Regions from separate parts of the Homo sapiens genome. Here regions 2, 3 and 4 are each linked to region 1. The links are contacts of gene promoters, found by promoter capture Hi-C in blood cells and fetal thymus (Javierre and others, 2016). All regions are on one chromosome and are shown on one strand. Each heading gives the region's core, a stretch centred on a gene start or on the middle of the fragment in contact. The rest is flanking DNA. Distances are from core to core; before and after follow the strand shown. Region 1 holds the start of GLDC (glycine decarboxylase). Region 2 has its middle 30 kb from the start of RANBP6. Region 3 has its middle 56 kb from the start of RANBP6. Region 4 overlaps BRD10 (bromodomain containing 10).

Evidence for each region. The method cuts DNA at HindIII sites, captures the fragments that hold promoters and counts their contacts. A CHiCAGO score of 5 or more calls a contact.
Region 2: a fragment that was not itself captured here is called in contact with the fragment with the promoter of GLDC in region 1 in 1 of 17 cell types (endothelial precursors); the score reaches 7.2 in endothelial precursors.
Region 3: a contact is called between a fragment that was not itself captured here and the fragment with the promoter of GLDC in region 1, in 1 of 17 cell types (endothelial precursors). The highest score is 5.2, in endothelial precursors.
Region 4: a fragment that was not itself captured here is called in contact with the fragment with the promoter of GLDC in region 1 in 1 of 17 cell types (M1 macrophages); the score reaches 5.8 in M1 macrophages.

What each region holds. Positions count from the first base shown.
Region 1 is chr9:6,644,479-6,647,178 of GRCh38, forward strand. GLDC (glycine decarboxylase) reads right to left here and starts at 1,251. Exons shown (of 25, transcript NM_000170.3): 1 at 767-1,251; 2 at 136-214. The coding sequence starts at 1,021. RefSeq lists enhancers at 461-1,018, 1,999-2,108, 2,159-2,258 and silencers at 699-768, 809-1,008, 1,079-1,328. The HindIII fragment of the contact is 9,537 bases long and covers 1-2,700 here.
Region 2 is chr9:6,044,412-6,047,111 of GRCh38, forward strand. No RefSeq gene overlaps it. Among named protein-coding and RNA genes, the nearest start is that of RANBP6, 30 kb to the left of the region's middle. The HindIII fragment of the contact is 2,474 bases long and covers 159-2,632 here.
Region 3 is chr9:6,070,745-6,073,444 of GRCh38, forward strand. No RefSeq gene overlaps it. Among named protein-coding and RNA genes, the nearest start is that of RANBP6, 56 kb to the left of the region's middle. The HindIII fragment of the contact is 1,010 bases long and covers 760-1,769 here.
Region 4 is chr9:5,956,115-5,958,814 of GRCh38, forward strand. The region is part of intron 3 of BRD10 (bromodomain containing 10); the gene reads right to left. Among named protein-coding and RNA genes, the nearest start is that of MIR4665, 50 kb to the right of the region's middle. The HindIII fragment of the contact is 1,604 bases long and covers 464-2,067 here.

The DNA of each region.
Region 1 (2,700 bases), core at 1-2,500:
CCGCCACTGTTTTATTTTAATCCACACATTCCCAGTCCTGAGCAATCCTTACCCCAGAGCTCGATTTTCAGGGAACCACAAAAGACAAATAGGCCAGAATAATCTAAGTCCAAGGGAGCCCTCCCGGCCACTTACAAACAGGGTCTTCCATTTTCAAGGGTCTTTTCAAACGGATGTTGGCAGGGACCGTCTTCTCGATCAATTCATCAATGCTCTAAAATTAAAACGCAAGGCAGAGGAAAGTGCCTCTGAGTTAAAAGAGTCACCTCTGTGTTTTGCGACTACAAAGCCTTGTGGGAACCTCATTGAAATCGCCTAATTAGGGTTCTTTTTAAAAGAAAAGGAAAACTCTGAGCAAGCCAGAATGATTTGGAGGAAAGAAAATCGTGAAGTGGGGTGGAGATTCCGCCACTCGGGGTTGGATTTCAGTTGCAACCGGAGCTAACCGGTAAGCCCACTCTTAATCAGGGGGTCTTCCTCCTCTTGCAAAGTTTAGGTCCATCCACAGGGCCACTTGGGCTGGGGGTGGTTTAAAAATGTACACTTTTGAGGCACGAAGACTGGGTGCAGGAGAAAGTAAGCTGTTAAGAAGTAAGAAGGCACGAGGACCAAAGGCACGAATTTGCTTCCACGCCACGGCCCGGGACCCAGGGTGCGGGGACCACGCGGAGCGCAGCAGAGCTCAGGGTAGGAGCCGGGAGGCCGCGCAGGCAGAGCCCGGGCAGGGCGGAGGGGAGGCCGCGGAGGGCCGGGTGGAGGTCCTTACCGCCAGCCCCAAGGTCTGCAGCATCTCTCTCTGGTCTTTGTCCCCAGGGCCGATGTGCCTCCGAGCGAAGTCGTCGTGTCTGGGCAGAAGGCGCTCCAGGAGGCGCGAGGCCCCAGCCGCGGCGCTGTCCCCGCCGCCACTGCTGCTGTCCCGGCTCCGCGGCGCCCAGCACGGCCCCGATCCCCCAGCCAGGCGGCGGCCGCCCCCGACCCCGCGGCCCAGGCGCAGCCCCCACGCCCTGGCACAGGACTGCATGGCCGCGGCCACCGTCCCCTGCCCCGGCCCGCAAGGGTCAGCCGCGCTCTTGGCCCCTCTCCTGGCCTCGGTCCCCCGGGTGGCGGCTGCGCCCGGCCTGGAGCCCCTTTCGCTGGACAGTCGGCCGGACAGATGGATGGACGCTCGCGGGCAATGAATGGGCGCTGCGCTCAACCAAGACACTCGCGCAAAGTTGTGGCTCCACCCAAGGCACCTGCTCCGCACACTTTAAGCGGCGCCCTGGAGGCGGGAGGTGGGTTGGGGCCAGGAAGCCCTTGGCCAATGAAAGTAGACAGAGGGGGAGGGGGCGGAACAGTTCCCGCCCCCGCCCCCTCTTCCTACCCTCTTCCCAGCCCTTCCGTGGAGTCCCGCTTCCCCTGGACCGGAGGCTGCCATCTCCAGTCCTACCCACTCCGACGCTGGCTGGTGCCGGGGGCCGGGACGCTCCGTACGCCGCCCGCCAGGGTGTGGAGCCGCACTGGGGCAAGATCAGGTGGGACAGCCCAAAGACTCCGGGCCAAGTTCCTGGGGGACTCGGCGGAGATGGAAGATGATTCTCGAAGCTCTCCATTTCCTTAATTTTGAGGTATCTTTCTCTGTCACATTTCATCTCAGGGAAATTAATATGGGCAGATGGCGGTTCTTTTATCTTTGCGGGAGCGTGATAAAGTTACTCAACCTCTCAGAGCTTCAGTTTTCTCATCTCAACAGAGCTGGATGGGATTTTAAAAAGAGATTATATGTACATGGAAAGCACTTGAACAGTAGATTTGAACACCCTCTCTATATTTCTTTTCTTTTCTTTCTTCCTTCTTTCTCCTCCTCCTCCTCCTCCTCCTTCTTCTCACTCTCTCTCTTTCTCTCTCTTCCCCCCCACCACATGTAACGCTATGGCTCACGCCTGTAATCGCAACACTTTCGGAAACCGACGCGGTAGGATAGCTTGAGCCCAGGAGTTCGAGACCAGCTTGGGCAGCATTGTGAAACCCTGTCTCTACAAAAAATACAAAAATTAGTGGGGCGTGGTTGCGTGCTTCTGAAGTCCCAGCTACTCTGGAGGCTGAGGTGGGAGGATTGCTTGAGTCAGGGAGTTTCAGGCTGCAGTGAGATGTGATCGCACCACTGCACTCCAGCGTGGGCCACAGAACGAGACTCAGGAAAAAAAAAAAAAAAAGAACTGTGTGTGTGTGTGTATATGTTTTTTTAAATATATGTACTGTATATACATATACGTGTGTGTGTAAAACTACAAAGGATATTTTGTTGTTGTTTTTGAGACGGAATCTCGCTCTGTCGCCCTGGCTGGAGTGCAGTGGCGCGATCTTGGCTCACTGCAACCTCCACCTCCCGGGTTCAAGCGATTGTCCTGCCTCAGGCTCCTGAGTAGCTGGGACTACAGGCACGTGCCACCACGGCCGGCCATTTTTTATTTTTATTTTTAGTAGAGACGGGGTTTCACCGTTTTAGGCAGGATGGTCTCGATCTCCTGACCTCGTGATCCGTCATTACAGGCGTGAGCCACTGCGCCCAGCAAAAGTACAAAGGATATTAAGATAGACATTGTTCACTGTCGTCTTACTTTGAAAGTTAGCCATCTAGAACTGGATTTTTTGTAAATGTACCATCTCCAGCTGTCTCATGACAGTTTTAGCAAGAGAATGAACTTTTAAAATTCCAGT
Region 2 (2,700 bases), core at 146-2,645, 600 kb before region 1:
TCAGCTCTGAATGCTTTCAGGGTTAAACATTCTTTATGAGTTTCTTAGTTATAGAGAGTCTTTTTATGATGGCTTTCTCAGATGCTGGGTGTAGTAGCAATATGCATGGTGTGTGAGCAGATTCACTGTCTCCTGTGGGAATGGCAGAGGCCTCTTGAAGCTTATCTCACTCCCCAGTGGTGTGCACTTTTTATTTATTTATTTTTCCCCCAGTATTTCATTTACTGGGTTGAACAGTTCAGGCTTCAGGCCAGTAGAGCAGGTGTCCATGGTTAAACATTGGCTGTGGCTAAAGCAGTTGGGTAAACGCAATACCCAATGGTGGGCAGAGGTCCCAGCCTTGACAGAAATGGCTGGGGGAGTTCTCAGTGAAACACACTGAGGTCTTATCAGGAGGAAAAGTGGGAGCCACCTCAGCTTCCCTGCCAGTCCAGCAGGAAAGCTATCCACTTTCCAGTCAAACTCCTGACCCAGTGTTCTGGCTATTCAGATCAGACAGGCACCTCTTTTCATTTGCAGGAATGTTGATATTCCATGTAGAGAGGGATGGTGATCTCTATTCCTCATGCAAGTCTGAACCTGGAGGGTACTCCTTCTGTGGGGATGCAGTCACCCTAAAGTGTTCCCAAAAGGCTGTCTACTGTTTGCACCCATGCTGAGCTCCTATGGGAGAAGCCCCAGCTGTGTCTGCAGTGGTGGGTGAGGGGAAGAAGAAATCCCCTTCTCCAAGACCCTTCATGAGCACCAGGGCTGCCTGTTGGGTAGAGTCATAGACTTTCCCCCACTGGGCTCAGCACTGCATCTGTACCTCTGCTGAAATAAACTTCCCACAAGAAGAAAGTCCTGGGACTCAAGGTTTGCCACCTGGATTCTTTTGTCCCATGGGGGTACTCCCTTGATAAGGTATACCCCCCTTTCCCCAGGAGTAGGAGTCCCTGAAGGCCAGACTACTGTGAATGCTGCTGCTCCTCTGTGTCTAGCTGTCCAGTTGGGCTGCCATCCTCCAGGCCGGTGCTAAGGAATGTCTGCAAGGGATCCAATGATGTGACCTGTCCTCAAGTCTCCCAGCAGTGGGTACCAGCACCAGATCAGATAGAGGTGGCTGGGGAGTGATGTAGACTCTGTGAGATTCTTTGGTTATAAATAGCCTTGGTGTGTTGGCTTTCTCAAATGCCAGCTGTAGTAGTAATGAACTGGTCACACGGACAGACTTAGGACCTCCTGGTTAGTAGGGTAATGAAAGCAATTGTGATAGCTGAGGTCATGCACAAGTTTTCGCCTTCCTGAGCACTGTGTTCTTCTGCCTGAAGATGCTGTAGTGGCTGTATCAGCTGGCCTCCATCTTTGATCGTTTCATCACATCACTTCCTAAAAAATGTGCTCATGTGCCAAGCTACCTCTCTTCCTTCATTCACGTATTTCCTGAAATGTGACCTTCGTTTGTGCTTGCCTTCTGTTACCCAGGGGAAGTACTCTGGTATCTCAGGCAATGAGCAGGGCCATAGGGCTCCCCAAAGTTTCTGTCCTTTGTGTTAGGTGATTAGCTCTGGTGGAGGGGCAAAGCCAGGTAGAGGCTGGTTCTTGGTGTGCAGACGCAAGCAGTGGCCCCAGTGGGGATCAGAGCAGTTCTCTGGCTGCTGGAGCACTGTTCCATGAGGGAGTACAGCTGCTTCTGCTGAATAGAAGAGTCTACAAGGGGAGTGGGGAGCAGCAGGTGGCAGTAAGCCGCACCTAGTTTCCATGCACTTGGCAAGGCAGGTCTCGCACCTGGAATGTTCCACTAGCAGCAGCTCACTGGGTTTAAGGCCTATGATCAGAACTCAAAACTGCCGCAGACCATAAGCCTTCTCCATGGAGGCAGATATTGAGGCTTTCAGGCCACACTCCTCCTGGTCTGCCCAAGAAGCAGGGGCACGCAGCTCCTGCTTAATCTCCATTGGGAGCTTCTCTCGTCCTGTGACTGCTGCCTGAATTAGCTGGCTGACTTCTAAAGTGAAGTACCCTGTGAGGCAGGATCAAGAATGGCTTCCCTCTGTCCCCACTGGAGACTGGGAGTGCACACACAGCATGTCCCAATGCTACTCCTTCTCATATGCTCCCCACCGTTCACTGCATTAGCTCTAGCACTGGGTAGGGTTAAAACCTTCCCTTGTGGCCTGGATTGCCAGGTTCTCCGGTGGAAATGTATATCCCAGAGGCAGCTTCTCCCTGCTCACACTCTGGGGATTTTCAGGTTTACGCCTGGCTCATGGTGTAGGCTGCAGCCTGCCGCTTCTTTCAAAGGGTCTGGTTTCCATCAGTTTTCCTGTTAAGTTCCTGTGTTGCTTCTTGAAATAAAGTTCACAGTGTGAATCTCTACACACAATTTTGTCTTTCCAACTGGGAGAGGCATGCTAATGATGCCTCCAATCCGCCATCTTGGAAAAAACACCCACGATACTTTAAGACATGTTGAAATGTTTATATGGAAAAAAGAGGATACACAATATGTACACACTATATATACTTTGTATAAAAATATGGCTTTATGTTCATTGGTTTTTTTTTTGTTTTCATATAAAGTTTCTTAAGAGCTCTGATTTGTTTTAAAGATGTTGCTTTGATTTACATAACAATTCAGTGCAATATTCTAAGCTTGTGGCATTTACTCGATCTTTACCCCTGTTTTTTTTTAATGGAGAAAATGATGTATCATTAAAA
Region 3 (2,700 bases), core at 15-2,514, 570 kb before region 1:
ACTTGAAATATGTTTGTGTAGTGAAGCTTGCTCTCTTGTGCCTCTTATATCACCATGAGCAGAATGTCTCCAGGGAAGCTGCTCTGTCTTCATTCTGAGCCCTAGAATGAAGCATCTGGGGCACAGCCACCTTGGCTGATTCAAGAAGTGTGTATCTGAAGAAGTATGATCCAAAGAAGTAGGACCACCCCAGCTACCAAGTCCTGAAGTAGAGTTGTTTCATCCAACTTCAGACATGTGAGAAATAGATGGACATTGTATGCCACTGAGATTTTGTGGTTGTTTGTTATGCGGCAAAAGCTGACTGATACAGACCACTTAGCCAAAGTAAAGTATATTCAACTCTTAGTTATATTTATTGGATTTTTTAGTTGCTTACTATGTCTTGAGACTCTCCCTCACTCCTGTTTCCTTCCCTGATTGTAGCTAATCCTCTCTGTCAAGGATGCTTCTGCTTCAAACTAATCCTTCCAGCTCTCTTTTGAGAGATACCTGCAACCACTTGACCACCTACTTGATGTGAATTTAGGCAATGAACTTGGATTGTTTGTCCTTTTAGTATTGAATTTTATAGGGATTCTTTATACGTTCTGGATACAAATCCTTTGTCAGATATATAAATTGCAAATATTTTCCCCAATCTGTTGCATTTTTTCAGTTTAATAGCATCTTCTGATGAGCAAAAAGTAAAAGTAATTTTGATGAACCTAATCTATCTTTTTTTGTCTTTTCTGGTTAGAGCATTTTTTGTTCTAAAAAAGCTTTGCCTAGATTGCAAAGATATTCTCCTCTCTTTTCTTGTTTATAGTTGTAGCTTTAGTGTTTAGCTTCTATAGATTAACTTCATAGTCTTAGCTTTTGTATTAGGGCTATGAGCTACCTTGAATTAATTTTTGTGAATGGTGTGTGTTGTGGGTCAAGATTAATTTTCATTCATGTAAATACCCAGTTTTAGTAAATTTTAATATAATATCTTATGTTATTGAAAAAAGCAGGATGTAAAATATATACTGTAGGGTCAGAACCATTTTTAATCTTATTTAAAGAAATAGGAAATAAATGCAATCAGATTAATAGACGTTGTCATTGGTAGGACTTCGGGTGAGTTTTTTCTTCTTCCTACTTTTCTGTATTTTCCAGTTTTCTATTCTAAAGTTATATTAATGTAATAATTTGGAGAAAAGCTCTAGTTTTCTTTTCTTTTCTTTTTTTTGAGACAGAGTTTTGCTCTTGTCACCCAGGCTGCAGTGCAATGGCACAATCTCGGCTCACTGCAACTTCTGCCTCCCAAATTCAAGGAATTCTCCTGCCTCAGCCTCCTGAGTAACTAGAATTACAGGTGTGCACCACCACGTCTGGCTAATTTTTGTATTTGTAGTAGAGATGGGGTTTCACCATATTGGTCAGGCTGGCCTTGAACTCCTGACCTCAGGTGATCCACTCACCTCAGCCTCCCAAAGTGCTGGGATTACAGGCGTGAGCCACCATGCCTGGCCGAAATTGCAAGAACCTTTAAGGTGATCCCCCACAAACTGGAGCTAGGATTAAGGTGGTTCCTCAGGCCTTTGTTCTGCCTACAATGTTCATGAGAGTTGCTTTCTAGGTTTGATTGCTGCTCAAACATTCAAAATCTGAAATAGCAAAGAAAGAAAAAAGAGGAAATCTATTCCAAAGCAGCTACTGTAACTGAAAGTTGAATGCATGCTGAGAAACAGTATTATAATTTGATATAATTTGATATTTCAGCCTTATTTATTCTGAATTCCTAAAGCTTTGTAGGTATCCAATGCATTATGAAAAAATATTATTTACCTAGAAGCCTAGGGTGCCAAAGGGTATACCTTCTGTGTTTTATTTGGCCTGTGGACAGGGGAAATATTACATAATTCTGTAACTAAGGCCATCTCTCTGCAACTTCTCCATAGCATTCTGTGTCCTTGACCTTTACATAGTGGGCTGTACTGTCCCTGTCACAATGCTTGTGCATTATTCTTCTCTCAACCAGACCTCCTTATTTACTCCTAAGTAGCTAACTCTTATATTAATATACTGTCTCTAAACCCCATTCACTCCACCCAGACCTTTGCCCCTTCCTTTCCTCCTAGACCACATGGTTAGTTATTTCTAGTAGATTTGTTCTATTACCACAACTACCTTTCCTCCTATAGTTTCCTCCTTGACAGTGCTAGCTTCCAGAAAACATTTTGCTACACAGCCTTGTAACATTGTCACCTGTCATATTACAACTGATATGGGAGTGCTGAGAAGCGAAGAGCATCGTCCCTTTAAATGACACGGAAGCGGAAGCGGGGAAGGGAAGTGCTGGGTAGAGTAGGGCGTGGTCCCTGGCTAGGGATCCACCCCCAAGGACCTAGCGAAGGACAGGCACTCCTGCCTTGGAGCCTAAATGTTGCATTTCCCAAGACCACCCTGGCCTGCCATGCCCCATTCTGTGCCTATAAAAACTTGAGACCCTAGCAGGCACACACACACAAGTGGCTGGACAGAAGAAGACACAAATAGCTGGTCATGGAGAGCACGCCGCAGAAGAGCATGCTGACAGGCACCAGCAGGCCATCAACCAGCAGAAGACGAAGTTTGGCCAGAGCGGTTGGAAAAGGGTCCAGCGGCAGGACTCCAGGGAAAAACCGTCTCCCTTCTGACTCCCCGATCTGCTGAGAGCTACTTTCACTCAATAAA
Region 4 (2,700 bases), core at 16-2,515, 690 kb before region 1:
TGATTAGCTTAAAAAAAAAGCGCCATTTGATTTTGTATTCATTTATAAGCACAACAGAGGTCACCCTTGATAGTCCCATGAATTTCATCTTATTGTTACACAGGCACTAAACACAGGTACTAAATTCTCAGTTAACTCTAGCAGCTACTCTATTTGAATGGACTGAGAAGCTAAGGTGGTTACTTGGTATTTCAGTTCACCACGTCATTAGGATGCTTAAATGTTATTAGGAAATTGGAGGTAATGTTACATATTGGTTATAAGCTTGAGTTTTAGAACTAAACTACCTGGGTTTGAGTGCCTGCTACAACCACCTACTATTATAGAGGTCATGTATAACAGCTATCACATACAAGACCTTGAGCAAACTGCTTTATTTCTTTGTGCAGTTTCTTCATCTGTAAAACAAGGGATAATAGTATTACCTACTCTGTGAGAATTAAATGGGTTATAACACCCCAAAAGCTTATACTACTGCTAGGCACATGGTAGGTGATCAATAAATGTTAGCTATTGCTTTAGCTTTAGCTAAGCTATGGTGAGAAAAGCCTAAACAGAAAATCTTTTAATTTTCTTTAAATTCTTTTTACTTACTCCATCTCAGTTCTTCTTATGCATGTCCTCTAAACTACCACTCTACTTTGTACACAAATCAATGAATGTAATACTTAACTTAGAGTACTGTAATTGTCTGTTCTTATGTTTGTCATCCTTACTATACTGTAAATTATTGGTGACAGAAATCACATTATTCACTCTGTATTTACAGCATTTAGCACACATAAGTTCTAAGAAGTGATCCCTAAATACAAGAATCCTACTTTTTTCAGAAATGTCACCAACAGTCTAGGGGGTAGGAAAAGGGATGCAGGTAACTGTTTACAATTCTGAGGGTCCATTTAAGTCTACTTTATAGTGAAGAAAACACTGACAACGATTTTAAATAATTTAAACAATTCACCAAAGAGTTTCAACATGACCTAGTAGTGGTAGTAAGAAGATTAACATTTATTGAGAACCTGCTGTGTGTCAGATACTTAGTAAAGTGGTCTGTATAAATTAACTTATTTATTTCTCAATATAACCCTCCCAGGTAGGTAATAACTCTACTGTAATACTGGATAACTGAAGATCAAAAAGATTAATTAACTCACTCATGTGTCACACAGTAAGTAAGCACCACAGTCAGGGATTCTAACTACAAAGTCTAAGCTCCTTCCATTATGTAATTCTACTGCACAAATATCTTAAGTTACCATTTATTGATTCCTACCATGTGCCAAGCTCCAAGTGACATACTGCGCATTTGTTATTCTAATTAATCTTAACAATACAGCCAAGTAGGTATTACCTCACTTATCACAGATAAAGAAACAGGCTATAAACAGGTAAAGAAACTGATGGAGGAGCTGTAGCTAATATGCACTAGGAGCATACATGTGAAATTAGGTCTGTCTCACTTCAAAGCTGTACTCTTTTTATGGTAAAATACTGCATTCTTTCAAATTTTTGAAAGGGATGTAATCTGCTTCTGTTTGGTTCAGAGCATTCCTTTTTATTAGGGTTGGATGATTTGTACATTTACTATTTTTTAATACCTTCAGTATATATCCTGAAAAAAACAATTTCAGTATAAATTTTCCTGTATTCTTCAGTAAAAACATCAGCACTTCAAAAAAATTAAATATTATTTTAAAAATCGAGCATGAGATACTACAAAATCATGCCTTTATTTGGTAACCTGTTTTTGCTTCAGGACAAAATATATACAGGGCAAGTTACATACTACCAGTGGGCTTCCCTTCCCTTATCACTCAACTTGATCATATCCCAGGCCTTTTACTTCCACTGCCCTAAGTTACTTGGTCATATAAAATAGAATAAAATTCTCAAACCTATAATTATGCTGAAATCAGAAGTCAAATTAAAACATACACAGAATTTCAATACCACTCTTGAGCCTAAAACAGAAAGTGTCAGCCTGTACCTGGAAAATGCATAAGGAAACATTAATAAACCTTAATAATAAACCTTAGTAATTAATGTTACAAAAGTATACCCTAATGAAGCTTTCTAAAACACTATGCTTAGAACAACTTAAGAAAAGAATGCCCAACCTGAGAGGGAAAATTATAACTAAAGATATATTTTATACTGTAACTGAGGAATAAAACTCTAGTTTTCTAGAATCTGGAAATATGCCTTTTATAAAAGAAATGGCATATTTCTTTACATAAGAAGGTGATTATCATCCCCCTTTCAGTTCCCCTTTCTCAGTTTCTTATTCCTCATTCTTTACCCTTCTCCTTCACCTGGTTTTCCTGTCTTCACTCCTCAGACCTCTGGGCTACTCATACTCAGACTTCCACTTTAAGCCAAGTGTGGTGGTGCATGCCTGTGATCCCAGCTCGCCTGTGGTCCCAGCTACTTGGGAGGCGGAGGTGAGAGGATGGCTTGCGCCCCGGAGTTCGAGGCCAGGTGGGCAACATAGCGAGATCCTGTCTCTCAGGGAGGGATAGGAGGAAGAAAAAGAACAGAAAAAAAAAGGTACTTCAATGCTTTCCTAGATTTAGCCTTTCCATGTTTTAAAATTATCCCAACACATTCACTCCTCCCTCTGTACTTTCGCCTTAGGAACCTTAATAAATAAATGAATACTAAGATATTAATCATTGTTGCAAGTAAAAACTCAAGGGTATT